3 separate regions of the Homo sapiens genome follow, and regions 2 and 3 are each linked to region 1. Evidence: promoter capture Hi-C in 16 types of primary human blood cells and fetal thymus (Javierre and others, 2016). All regions are on one chromosome and are shown on one strand. Each heading gives the region's core, a stretch centred on a gene start or on the middle of the fragment in contact. The rest is flanking DNA. Distances are from core to core; before and after follow the strand shown. Region 1 holds the start of FKBP15 (FKBP prolyl isomerase family member 15). Region 2 holds the start of TUT7 (terminal uridylyl transferase 7). Region 3 holds the start of AGTPBP1 (ATP/GTP binding carboxypeptidase 1).

The links. Contacts are between HindIII fragments. The CHiCAGO score rates a contact against its expected background, and 5 or more counts as called.
Region 2: a contact is called between the fragment with the promoter of TUT7 here and the fragment with the promoter of FKBP15 in region 1, in 1 of 17 cell types (non-activated CD4 T cells). The highest score is 5.0, in non-activated CD4 T cells.
Region 3: the fragment with the promoter of AGTPBP1 here is called in contact with the fragment with the promoter of FKBP15 in region 1 in 1 of 17 cell types (non-activated CD4 T cells); the score reaches 12.9 in non-activated CD4 T cells.

The regions. Positions count from the first base shown.
Region 1 is chr9:113,218,246-113,223,019 of GRCh38, reverse strand. FKBP15 (FKBP prolyl isomerase family member 15) reads left to right here and starts at 1,743. Exons shown (of 28, transcript NM_015258.2): 1 at 1,743-1,829. The coding sequence starts at 1,777. SLC31A1 (solute carrier family 31 member 1) reads right to left here and starts at 1,476. Exons shown (of 5, transcript NM_001859.4): 1 at 1,342-1,476. RefSeq lists enhancers at 565-754, 1,595-1,704, 1,815-1,944. The HindIII fragment of the contact is 3,588 bases long and covers 1-2,507 here.
Region 2 is chr9:86,352,183-86,357,053 of GRCh38, reverse strand. It overlaps TUT7 (terminal uridylyl transferase 7), which reads left to right and starts at 2,644. Exons shown (of 27, transcript NM_024617.4): 1 at 2,644-2,783; 2 at 3,824-4,374. The coding sequence starts at 3,855. RefSeq lists a silencer at 2,386-2,565 and an enhancer at 2,586-2,795. The HindIII fragment of the contact is 6,298 bases long and covers 1-4,782 here.
Region 3 is chr9:85,740,187-85,744,418 of GRCh38, reverse strand. It overlaps AGTPBP1 (ATP/GTP binding carboxypeptidase 1), which reads left to right and starts at 2,465. Exons shown (of 26, transcript NM_001330701.2): 1 at 2,465-2,644. RefSeq lists silencers at 2,142-2,741, 2,812-3,131 and an enhancer at 3,302-3,451. The HindIII fragment of the contact is 1,776 bases long and covers 1,965-3,740 here.

The DNA.
Region 1 (4,774 bases), core at 494-2,993:
TCTGCAGTGAGACTGCTTTGCAAGTGACTTTAAGTATTCATTCCATGTTAAAAATACCATAGATAATGTAAGCCAGGGGCTAGCAAGCTCTTTCTGTTAAACATTTAGATGTTTCAGTGCTGCAATCACAGTGACCGGTGTTGGGGAGAGGGATTAGAAAGTGCCATGGTACTTAATCCAGTTACTCCCCCAACACCTCCAAGAGGTAGCCAAGTTCACACACTAAACAGAGCTACTGCAACAGTTCTAGTGCTAGTCCTTAGATTCTAGTTCCAGTTCCGGTTCTAGTGCTTAGATTCCAGTTGCATCATTCCAACTGTGAGCCTTCGCTGCTTTAACATCTTTGCCAGGAGGTGCAAAGTTCTCTGGGAGGGAGCTACCAATCATTTCATTTCAATTTCATACTGACAGATTGAAACATTCACGTAAGGGACACCTGTAGTACCAACCTGACTGTGAGGGGAAGCCCAAGAACTCCAGTGAGTCTGTGGACGCTACGCTGGGACACTATCTCCTTAGCCACACCTTGTCTAAGCCAGGACTACCCCAGGATTGTTTCGAGAATGATACCAGGTTAACCAAAGAAATACTTATGTAAGATACAGATAGGGTGGAAACTGGAGGCAGAGGAGTCCGCCACAATTGATGTTGATTTAGGGCTGTCGCAGGAAGACCCAGGGAAACCCACGCCAAAGTTGGGGTGGGGATGTGTCTGCCTCCAAAGTATCCTCCTTTCCATCACCCACCGCCAGAATATCTTAGCTCTTCTGCACCTCATCCGCGTAGAATACAGGTGGACTCTAGAAAGGGGACTTTCCTCGAGGTGTATGCTACAGTCTTTCAATAGTCACTCTGTAAGGGCACACAGTGCTTAAGGGCTGATAAGGTTCTTGTTCACCCACTAGCTCACTATGTCCTGAATCAAAGGACGAGGAATCCAGTCTCAGTCTGCCCTTTACTCTTTGTGACCTCGGACTAGTCACCCGGGTGCTTAGTTCCTTCGTCTCCCTATCTGTAAATTCTGAGATTACGAGGAGGCCGGGATTGAAATCCATGGCCTCTGAGCTCTAAAATCTTCTGGACCAGCAGGCACATGGAAGAACTGGACAAATGGCCGGTTGCATACACGGGGAAACTGAGGCACCGAGCACCCCGGCCCAAGGTCACTCTGGCTATGCCACTGCAGGGGCCGGGCCGAAGCCCCAGTCTTTAACCCTCCAGTCCCGAGCTCTTTCTCCTTCCGCGGAGCTGAGGAAAGCGGCGAGGAAGGTCCTTGTCCCGCTGGGAAAAGGACGGTACCCATGCACAGGGGTGCGAAAGAGGGGCCGAGAGAAGCCTTACCTTTCCAGGTCAAGTCCAGCCACTAGCACCTCTCTCTCCGAATCTTAACCCGTCACCCCCTCACGACTCTTCGAACGGCCCCTCCACTTCTACCCGGCTCGACGTGTCCACCACCGCCACCGAGGCCGAGGATTTCCCGCCCCCTCCCGCCCCCTAGCATTACCGACCAATCCCTGCAAGGGGCTGTGAAGCTCCGCCCCGCTGCGGGCTGGAGAGGCCTGACGTCACTCGGCGCTCGTGCCCGCGCGAGCCTCTCATTTGCCTTTGCCCCACCTTCTCCAGAGCCCAGTCTACTTTCGGTCCAGAGACCGTGCTGGAGTTCGCCCTGCCGGAAAGCAGCACGCCGCCGCGGCATTTTACGACGTCGGCGGTGACAGGCCCTGGGACTCTGGGAATACCCAGCTTCCTCCCCGCAACCCGGTGAAAGCCAACGCAATGTTCGGTGCGGGGGACGAGGACGACACCGATTTCCTCTCGCCGAGCGGCGGGTGAGTGACTGAGAAGTATGCGCTGGAGGGCGTGGCTGAGAGATACCGGCGGATTGTTGGAGGGGGGTCGATCTCTTCTCAGGCCTTTTCCCAACTTCCGGGGGGAGACCCTTGCCACATTCCGGTGCTCTACACCTCTCAGAATCTGGGCAGAACTTGCAACTGTGCTGACCCTGCCGATCTGAGGTTCGGGACCCGGCATCTCTCTTGGCGGGAAGATAGCCCTGGGTTTGCCTTTTGCATTCTGGGTCACAATTTCTCCGGTGAAATGGGAATGATTGCTGATGAGACTTCCTGCCTCAGAATTTTTATAGGAGTCAGCTGGGGCTGATGTGAGACTTCTTTTCTCCATGGAGAAGGCGAAGACACTTTAGAACCAGGCCTTGGTGGGTCAGCTCTAGCATTCTTCAAGGCCCAGCTCGGATGTCACGTTTTGGATGCTTTTCCTTCTGCAACCTCAGGCAGAATGAATTGCTTTCTCTTCCTTATTCCTGCAGCTAGGTGTGTTTGCCTCTATTCTTATACCCCGCACCTATTAGATTATGAGTCCTCACCGGACAGGGACTGCTTATGGTGTTCATTTCTGTCTAGCATGCAGCATGGTACCTAGCACATAGTGAGTGCTCAGGAAGTGGCTGTTGAATGAATAATAGCTGCGAAATTGCACTTTGTAAAGCTTAAAGCTTAAAACCAACGTAACAGACTTCTGTCATTCTCCAGTTTCCCCAAGCATTATATTAATATATACCAGCCTGGAATAGAAATCTTTAAAGAGAGGAAGGGTTTTGTCTCTTTTAGTAGTCAGTTTAGCCTTTTCCATTGTGTTGTGCCAGTGGACAGCTTGACTTCCTCCAAACTTGTGAGCTACCAAGCTCTGATCATTGCAGAGCTTTTCTTTGAACATATGCTTAACAAATTTTGTGCGTGCTGAAGAATGTACTGGAAAAATGACAAATGCACCACATATGCCCCTTATTCTGCTAAATGCTAAGAGGTTACAAAAATGATTAAACTGCTGTGCCTGCCCTTAAGTTGCTTCCAGATCTGTTGGGCCATGTGGTTTCTATTGCAACCACAAATACTCAGTTCTGCCTTGTAGGGTGAGAGTAGTCATAGACAATACATAAACAAATGAGTTAATAGATGAATGACCATAAAATGACACTGGCCTTCTTTTGTCCTTAAGTAGGAATTTTTGATTTACACTGACTAGCTCTATATTACCTACCTTTTAGTCTTTTTCACTCTCACCACTCTGTTCCCTTCCTACCCCGTCTTTAGATGGCCTGCATTCACTTAGTTCCACTTTGAGTTCTTTCCGTTTCTCAGTTATTTTACAGTTAAGCTGTGCTTTTGTTCCTTTTTTCCCTATTCCACTTTAAATTCGCATTCTTCACTATGTGAAAGTATTTGGGAGAAGTCTGTAATGTTAGGGCTCCCAATTTTCATGCAACAATCAGTCCAAGCTGACTGAAAATTATGGGATAGGTAATGACAGCCATGTGCTCTTTTCCAGATTCCTGGCCAGAGATAAATTCTTGGTGGCTCAACTATTCTTTTTTCCTGAGCAGGCTTCTCAAGGATCTGAGACACTTGAATTCTAGGCATGTGACTGTGCTCCTAGACATAGACAACAGCTAATTTGATGGTAAAAGACATACTGAGGAAAGTTATAGTTTATTTTTGTTCCCCACAGTTATCAGGAAAACCAAATCAAATTTAACACTGAGAATACAGAAAGTTTCACCACAATTCTCTGATTTAGCTATTCCTTTTTTGGTTTTCTCTAAGGAAGTAGAACATATGACAGTGAATACTGCAGCTACTTTTCACTTCCTCTTTTATAGCCATATATTACTGTAAGTATACTTGCTTAAGTTCCAAGTCTCTTGATTTAAACACATGATTTGCTTGATTTCATGAAGGATATTCAAGCCTAATAGAAGTAGGAGTATCTGATAATCTGCCTTCTGAGTTTCTAGGCCTCTTAGAGTTTACTATTAATCTAGAAGTAGTAATCAGGAGCCTTGTTTTTGTTTGTTAGTTTGTTTTAGCCCATTCCTCACCGTTGTGGGAAGTAATAGTAATGAACTAATAGTACTTGGCTTCAGCTAATCCAGATAGGAATAAGGCACAGTTTCTGCCCCTAAGAAACTTTTATTTTAGTAGTAGAATAAAATCAATCCAGGAATAATAATCACAAAGCATTTTTAAGGGGCCAATTATGTATATATTTGTTTTAGATTATAAAGGTATGTGTAGGCAGATCCGATTAGCATAGTAATGATAAATCACCAGTCTAAAGATGGTAGAAAGATAAATTAACCGATCATCAGAAAGCATTTTGAGTTCTGTAAAAGATAGGAAAAAGCCTAGATTCAAATGTTGATTCTATCCCCAGTTAGGAATGTGACTTTGGACAGATTATCTTCCATCCTTGTCCCTCCATACCCCAACCTATTCAATAATGAGGTTTGACCTAGATAAACTTTGAGACCTTTGCCAGTTCTGTAGTTTTAATGTTAATGCTAATACCAGTTTATGGTTGCAGGTCAACTTCCGTGTCAATCAAGCATGCTTTCACCCTTGCAGGGGTATCTGAGTTGAACCACATTTTGAGATAATAGGATGTGTTCACAAGTATATAAATACGTACTCTGTGCTTACTTAATGCCATACACTGTTCTAAGAAATACATAGACATTATTGTATTTATTCCTCCCTTCTACTCTATGAAATAATTTTACCTACTATGCCCATTTTACAAATGAGAAATGTATATATATATATATATATATATATATATATATATAATTGTATTTACTCCTCTCTATGAGGTACTATTAATTATTATATCCGTTTTACAAATGGGAAAGGCTCAGAGAGGTAAATTGCCCAAGATCATGCAGCTAGAAAGTAATAGAGCCTGGATCTGAAATCAGGTA
Region 2 (4,871 bases), core at 1,395-3,894, about 27 Mb after region 1:
GCCCTCACATTTCTGCTCCAGGTTGTTGGAAATATGTCAAGACCGTGAAGCAATCACCATAAAGATTCTGAGAAACTCATTAATCCTTCCAGTGACATCCAAAGAAAACTCAAATCAAAATTTCCAACCAGATTGTAAGAATTCCTAGGACCAATTTAAATATCCATTACAGCATAATATGGACAGAAAAAGGTATATTCTGCTGTCAATATATTTTGATTAGTACTGCATCTTATTTGAGAGAGCCTGATTTGTCCTCAAAATGAATCTTAAAAGCAACCATTAGAATAAAAGAAGTTGGGCTTTGGGAAAGACGTTGAAGAAAACGCAAATTCAAAACGTTTTATTTTTTAAATTTATTTTTGAGAGAGACAGGGTATTGCCCTGTTGCCTAGGCTGGAGTGTGGTGGCACCATCATAGCTCACTGCAGCCTCCAACTCCTGGGCTTAAGGTATCCTCCTACCTCAGTCTCCAGGGTTGCTGGGACTACAAGCAGGAGCCAAAGTGCCTGGCAAAAGTATTTTAAATCGGGCCAGGCCTGGTGGCTTACGCCTGTAATCCTAGCACTTTGGGAGGCCAAGGCCGGTGGATCACTTGAGGTCAGGAGTTCCAGACCAGCCTGGCCAACATGGTGAAACCCCGTCTCTACTAAAAATACAAAACTTAACCAGGCATAGTGGTGCCTGTCTGCAATCCCAGCTACTTGGGAGGCTGGGGCAGGAGAATCACTTGAACCTGGGAGGCAGAGGATGCAGTAAGCCAAGATCGCACCACTACACTCCAGCCTGGGCAACACAGTAAGACTCTGTCTCAAAAAAAAAAAATTAAATCCTTAGAAAGATGTATCCTCTGCTGCTGCTCTAGAACTCTAGGTGGAGGCAAAGGTTGCAGCCAGCGGAGATCATGCCACTGCACTCCAGCCTGGGCAACAGAGTGGCACTCCATCTCAAAAAAAAAAAAAAAATCCTTAAAAGTATGTATCCTCTGCTGCTACTCTAGAACTCTAGGTGGAGGCAGATTTCTAAACCAGTTCTTTTGCACAGGAATTACTGGTTTGGGTGGGGCGTGGTGACGCTGCTGTCTCAGAATTAATGTAATCATGCATCTCCACACTCCCTTTTGGACTATATTTTCAAGGCCACTGTCTGCCTGTTGAAGAGACTATCAGTTTGATCCTCACGTATTTTCACAATCAAAATATCTAAGTAAGGAATTATATAAAAGTTGTAGGAATGTGTTTTATATCACTTTTAGTATAGCCACATGGTTAATAACAGCCTCATATTCAGGGTCTGGATTGCAGCAGTGCCATTTACTTCACTGCAAGTGCTAAATGTCCTCATCTTTAAAAGTGGGATAATGATATAGTCTTCATGAAGCTGTGAGGATTAAAGAAGTTAAGGCTGGGTATGGTGGACCACCCCTGTAATCCCAACACTTTGGGAGGCCAAGTTGGGCGGATGGCTTGAGGTCAGGAATTGGAGAGCAGCCTGGGCAACATAGGAGACCCCTGTCTCTACAAAAATATAAAACAAAGGAGTTAATATTTGTAAAGCCTTCAAAACAGTTATTGGCATAGCCAGAACTTTGTGTGTTATTATTTTAAGACCATTGCTCCACAGGACCTGACAGCTTTCAATTTACATGCTTTAAAAAAGCAGAGAAATGAAAACTGTCGATTTTCCCAACGCTCCCTAATTTCACTAGTTGCTTGATGTTTTTCAAAGCATTTAGAACACTGTAAACAGCAAGGAAGGTCATACAGTAAAGAAAGAAAAAGCAACCCCGAGTTCGAGGTGTGCACTCTTCAACTCAAAAATTCGAATGTAACGCTCTCTGGTCATCCCTTGCCATTACACATATTCTTCGAAATGAACTGATTTTTTTTTTTTCCAAGTAAAAGTAATCCTTACACAACCTAAGAAAAAAGCAGAGCATTTTCCTTGACCACTTTGAGATCTGGGTGAGCAGTGGATGTTTAAATGCTGGCATTTCTACAAGGTCGGCAATTAAGAATTCACGAAAACATTAATCACTACGAATTATCAGAAAAACACCAAGAGCGCTACGAGGCCTCGGAGCCTTTACTCCCCCTGGAAGTAACCGGGGAGCACCCAGGGGCAAAGCCGAGGCCCCAAGCGCGGGGAATGCGGCTTTGCCCGACCGCTGGCTCCGCGTCCCTCTCCGGGTGCATAAGTCTTGGCTCCCGCGCCTCTCCCGAGCACTTAGCCTCCCGAGCAGAGAGGGGAACCAGAGGAGCGTCGAAGCCGGGAGAGAAAAGGGGCGGGCGCCGCTCTGGTAAGAAGTTCGGGCCTGGCCCCCAAGCGCCGGCGAACCGGCTATCCGGCGAGCCAGTAATTAGCCCGCTCCGACGGTTGCGCCCGGTGGCCAGACCCGGCGCCCGACACCTGGAGCGAGTGCGCTGGGGCGCCGGACAGGAGAGGCCAGGCTGGCAAAGGCGCGGGAGGCGGGGTCGGAGCGTGGGCGGGGCACCGCGGGGCGGGGCGCGTCGCTCGTTTCCGGTGTGCGCGGCGGAGCGCTAGGGCGGGGGCACAGTCGGCTCCCAATCGCGCACAATGAGACAGCGCTGAGCGCCGGAAGTGGGGCCGAAGGAAAACACGGAGAGGGAGCCCGGCCGGGACAGGAAGAGGCTGGGGACCGCGGCGAAGGTGGTGAGTGCTCTTGGGCGCCTTCTCCCAACGTCCCTGCCAGACTCGCCTCCGGGCTGATTCTCCAGTTGGTTTCCTGGACTCCAGAGTAGCTGTCCGGCCTGGCCCCGGAGGTACGTTGGTTCCATCCCCCGCCGGCCTCCTCGCACCAGTTTGGGTGACCGAGGAACCCCCAGGCCGGCAGAGGCTGAGCCCTCGGGTTCGAGTCCGTGTTTTCACTTTTTGTCAGACTGCGGGCGCAGAAGACGGGATTTGGGTCAAGACATTCGGCTCTGGCCCCCTGGCCGGCCGGGGGAACCCTGGAACCCCATGGAGACAGCAGGTCACTTCCTGCTTCCTGGTCCCCACGGTGGCTTCTTGGCCAGGAGTGCAGGGACGCCTCCTCTTTCTCCACGTCGGGCTCAAAAGGGTGGAAACTAAGGCAGATCGGTGGTGGAGCGGTCAGATGGGGATTGAAGAGGAGTGTCATTCCTCAGGGAATTGCTGTTCCTGACAAAACCAAACTTGTTTGGGGTTGGAGAACGGGGATTGAGGAGGTTAGATGGAGTTGTCCCTTGATCGGAAACCCAGCCTCTTTAATTACAGCTGCACCTTGGTCGGAAGCCCAGCCCCTCCGTAACCTAAGCGCTCAAAGCCGGTCTGTCCAGAATAGGGGTGGTGAAGGGACGGAAAATTGGAGTTGAGAAATGTAGTACTCCTTTCACGTAAAGTTTCGGTGTATAACACTTACAAGTAATTGCCAACTTAAAAAACAAAAGACTGTTTCGGTAGTTTAGTAATAATATTGGCTTGGGATGAGGTTTTCTTTGAAGAGAAACGCCTTGTTACAGAGGGAAAAGCCGACCATACTTGATATGAGTAATATTCTACTATGCTACAGTTCTGGAACCTATAGAGCTTCTCTTATTCACACATTTAATCTTCATGCTAAATAGTAAGTATTAATTTTCATGAAGAATATTAGAGGACCAAGCCTCCCAACCTCTAGGGTAAAGCACTGATTATTAAGAATGTGATAGAATTTTTATTTTAAAAAAATAGGGAGTTTCTTTCTTACAGGCTTTGGGGCATCTGTACGATAAATTGTTATTTTGTATACTTGTATGATATCTTGTTATATAGTTTGATATTTCCCCAAAATACCTTCTTTCAGGTGCAAAGTAAGAAAATTGAAGTCAAAGACCATGGGAGATACAGCAAAACCTTATTTCGTGAAGCGCACTAAAGACCGGGGGACTATGGATGATGATGACTTCAGAAGGGGTCACCCCCAACAAGATTATTTAATAATAGATGACCATGCTAAAGGCCATGGCAGTAAAATGGAAAAGGGCCTTCAAAAAAAGAAGATAACACCAGGGAACTATGGGAATACCCCCAGAAAAGGACCATGTGCTGTTTCCAGCAATCCATATGCATTTAAAAACCCAATCTACAGTCAACCCGCTTGGATGAATGACAGCCACAAAGATCAGAGTAAGAGATGGCTGTCTGATGAACATACTGGTAATTCAGACAACTGGAGAGAATTCAAACCTGGACCTAGAATTCCTGTTATAAACCGACAAAGAAAAGACTCCTTTCAAGAAAATGAAGATGGTTATAGGTGGCAAGACACAAGAGGCTGCAGAACTGTAAGACGACTGTTTCATAAAGACCTAACAAGCCTAGAAACCACGTCAGAAATGGAAGCAGGAAGTCCTGGTAATGTTTTCCAACTTGTCAGATCACAACCCCAGAGTCAGCAATGTTTTATTCTTTTTCATCCAAATGAGTTTTGTTATTTTCAGCAATTTAGTTTCAGTTTTTCACAGTTTCTGTTTTAAGAAATGGTCACTTAGTGTGATTATTTTAAGGATAGTAATCATGATATTTGAGCAGCTAAAACACATTTCATATGTTGATCCCTTTAAAAGTTTACTTTGCCCCAGGGCTCACTTTACGTCAGTAAACATGTTTTCTGTAACGTGTTTTTTACAGAAGAGGGTAGCTATATGCTCCAGGGGACCATATCGTAATTGCTCAGTGGTTTGTGTGTTTTCAAAATTGTGATTATAATTTTGTATTTGAATAATTAATGTGTTCATAATATAAATGACAGAATATAAAGCTTTTTTTAAAAAAAAAACTTATTTGTTGATGTAAAAACACAGTATACACTGCGTATATCTCCTGCCACAAGAGATATATCTTTTGGATGT
Region 3 (4,232 bases), core at 1,216-3,715, about 27 Mb after region 1:
AGATAATTTATTTTCTTAGGTTCACAATGTATAGAGGCAGAGAATTAAGAGAATAATTTCACAGGGAATACACTCCATAGATGATGTTTATTAACTACATAGTGAGTGAGTTCCAAAACTATTAAAACCTAGTTGTTCAATTAAGATTGAAGCAGACCTCTGTGGAAAGTAAAGTCTGATTAAGGATTGAGGTGGGTGTGGTATTAATGCCTGTAATCTCAGCATTTTGGGAGGCTAAGGCAGGAGGACTGCTGAGCCCAGGAGTTTGAGACCAGCCTGGGTGACTTAGGGAGACCCCGACTCTACAAAAACAATTAAAAAAATTAGCCAGGTGTGGTGACGTGTGCCTGTAGTCCCAGATACTCAGTGGGAGGCTGAGGTAGTACGATTCATTAAGCCTGGGAGGTCAAGGCTGCAGTGAGCCATGATTGCACTACTGTATTACAGCCTTGGCAACAGAGTGAGAGTCTTGTCTCAAAAAAAAAAAAAAAAGAAAGAAAAAGAAAAAGAAAAAGAAAAACAACTGAGGTGTACCTTTACCTTTTGGAGGCTGAGGTTCTCGGGAGAGATGGTGTCCAACATACAGGAGATCGGTGAGGATATGCAAGGTCCCACGATGCTAGAGGGCTGTGCCAGTGTTGGTGGACAGGCTTCAAAGCTTAAAGGCTAACAGGGTGTGGCCCTGTTGCAGCCTGAGCTGGTAGCGTTCAGGGAAGTGGCTGACAGAGCACGCGATCTGCCACCCGCTGAGCTCTCAAAGTATCTTGCAAATTCTTGAGTTTATATGTATTTCGAAATCCTGTAGTTGAGGTCAGTAACATATATATGGTGTTTGATAAGGTGTAACGTCACATTAGCTAGGAGAGGTGAAGTTTATTTCAACTTCATACACGTGGGATCTGATGAAGAGTGATGTCACATTCCCAGGGGGTGGGGGAGTAGCTCTAAGTTCTTAATTACCGCAAAACATAAATCACTCACTCTTGTGGCAAACTATGTGATTGGAATCATTTCAAAGCTATGTAATGCTGCTATTTATCTTGTGTGGGTTAATCTCCTGGGTCTGTGTTGTGGTCATCAAACTATGCTAACAGTGCTTGTGAAAGTGGGATTCAAATTCCACAAACACACACATCCACATAATATCTTCCTATATTGCAGGTTGACTCATTTAGAAACATGTTCTTTAAGAAAAGTTTCAGGTATATTACATACATATTTAGCATTATTGTAAAATTATTACATTATTATTGGGTATTTTCAGATAATACGTTTCTGATTGGGTGGTTTGGGGTGGTGGTTGTTTCAAAATTATTTTAAATACCGTAACCTATCTTTTAGTGCTCACGATGAGGGAAACTACGATGTTTATAAAATGGCAGTTTCTTGTTCATCTGAATAAAGACATCTACCAAGGGCAAACTGTAAGAAGCACTGTGGTGTACCTTGGGTTACTTTTTGAATTGCTTTCACACCTGCTTAATTTTATTTGAACAAGATCATAAAACAAAACAAAAATCTCACAGTTCTCAATGCATTCCCTTATCTAGTTGTGATATTACATTCCTTACCATAAACAGTAGCAAACATGTTCTTGTGCAACGTGAAAAAGTAAATGATGTCAGTATTTATTTGCAATACATTGCAGTACACTGAAGTACAGTCAAAACAGAAGGGGGTGTATTAGTAATTTCTCTGACACATTACTTTGGCTCAGATAAAACATTCCGCCTTTGCCTTCAGTAGCCAACTTAGCATTACCGTTTTGATTATATGCAGGCACTTTTTCAAAAAACAGTAAATCAGCATGCTATTTTGTTCGCTGCAGCACTAGGCATCTAATTTACTGAGATTTGGCCACAAGGTGCAATCCTGTTGTTTTCTGGGAGCCCGATTGTAGTAACAGCATGTCCCTTCCAGCCTCTTATTATGGACCCTCCTTGAGGTCAGGAAAGGTCTAAGCTTTACCGCAGTCCCCAGCGTTTGATGCGACCCCGGGATCACGTGGGGAGCTTTAAGAACCCTTCCTAAGAAAGTGACTGATTGATGGCGGGGGAGGGGGTGGGCGCGGGCTTAGTTCCGGGAAAAGGCTGGGGCCCTCGTTGGGAGTGTACAGAAAGATGACTTGAAGAACGTGGGGAGTCGCTCGCAGTTCGGTACGGAGGGGCGGTGGCCGGGGCTGCTGGGTACAAGGGACCGGCAGCGCGCGGAACACCCGCCCCTAATTCCCGCTCCCGTGCGCGCTCCGCCCCCACGCGCGCGCTCCCTCCCGTCAGGCGCGCAGAGAGGCGGGGCGCAGCGCGCACGGAGGTAACAAGGGACGCGGCGGGAAGAGGGCGTGCGCTCCGCCCCGCCCCTTTCGCGGCCTCGCACGCCCCGCCCCCACTCCCTGCGCGTGCTGGGAGCCGGCTGGCAAGGCGTGCGGTGGGCGGGGCGCCGCGCTGACGTTGCCCGGGATGCGGACAGGTTCCGCCGCCTCCAGCGCCGCCGCCGCAGCTGCCGCCGCCGCCGCCTCCGCCTCGCCTGCCACCGGGGTTTGTATGAAAACACCGGGCGGCGGGCGGCGAGGGATCCGCCGTGATCCAGGTGCTGAGCCGGGTGCTGCGGCTCTGCGCGGTCCCCGCCAGCGCCCCATCCTGAGCCGGTGAGCGCCCTGCTGCAGTCCTCATGTCCCGGCCGGCCGTCCCTCTGCTCTCCCCGGGCCGCGGGAGATGCGAGCGACGGCGCCCGGGGGTAGGAGGGGCGACCCCGGATCCCTGCGCCCCTTACCTGACGGGTTGTGTAACGCATGTTACACATGTGACGCGTGAGGGGAACGCACTCGGTCTTGAGGGAAAGCCCTGACGGGGTGGGGCTTTGACTGGGTCTGGAAAACGCCTTCCCCAGTCCCCGGACCCTCGGTGGATCCCCGTCCCAGACCTTGCGGAGGGTATCGGGCGCGGTCTCTGGGCGGAGGCCGCCCTTTCTGCTCAGCCCTTTCTCTCGGGCCCGAGCTCGCGGCGCCGCGGGGAGTCCAGCCGAGGGGCTGCAGGGCCGGGGGCGGGCGCGCCCAGCCCCGCTCTCCCCCGCCCCAGTGGTAGCGGGCCGCTGAATCGCGGGCCCCTGTGCTTCGAGAATTCTAGCGTTCCCGACTGAGCGCCAGCAAGGTGGGATTTGCTGTGACATCGGCGATGGGCACGTTTGCTTCCTCTCGCTGGGTGGTTTGAGCTGAAGTGTGTCTTCTGTTTACAACTTGTCGCCTTGAGCGTTTGGTTTGAACCTGAATCAGATCACCCTGGATGACAGTGCAGAGTTTCCTTAGTGTCTTCCTTCCTGAATTGCGGGTTCTCAATTGCAAGTGTTCAAGGACTGTTGTAACCCAAAGGCTTGCTCGACTCTACCGTTGTTTTACCCCTTGTGCGGTATAAACCTCTTACGAGCACCAGGGCAATTGGAGTTGGTTGGGTTCCTTTCTTGGGCGTTTACTCATTGTAGAATGGAGTTTTCATGCATCATAGTGTAATCGATGTGAATGTTGATAATTTAAAGCCCATTTCCCGTTTTAACATAGCTTACTCAAGTGCCTGAAGATAGCGGAAATTTTCTTTGGCAGTATTAATTCTATGTGGGTTTTTTCCTTCAGGTGTTTAACATTGTAGTTGTGTTTAATTACAATGCATGACAATTTGTAGTTAGAAAGGACCTTAACAGTCTTCTTAATCGGTCATTTTCACTTACCTTTTATGTCCGTTTTTTAAGCTTTATGTAAATCAAATTATCCTTTGTGAACTTCTGAATTATTCTTATAAACTGGTTGTCTGAGAAAACCGGAAAGTTATTTTTGTAATTGTATTGTGGAATGTTTTTAGTTCAGTAGGCCAAAAAAGAAATGATTTATTTAAGGAACTTTAAATGGTGCTTATTTTAAAACATGTGCCAAATGTCAAAACCAAACAAAACTCTGAAAGATCTGTATTTCCTATGTAGAATTACTGCGAAATAATAAGTCGTGCCTTACCCACTGTTTCTCATCATGCAGGCAGAGTTCTAATATGACTTGCTCTTTTTCCCATTCCACTTCTCTTAAGTTAAATTCTATGGTGAAGTTACAGGTTCATTTTTAATGATCACAAAACTCTGCCTTGAATTGATTAATCACATAATTACAACTGCAGACTCACTCTGAACTCGGAAATGAAGTGGATAGGCTTAAAACTACCCTCGTATTTGGCCAACATTGCAAAGCATTTAAA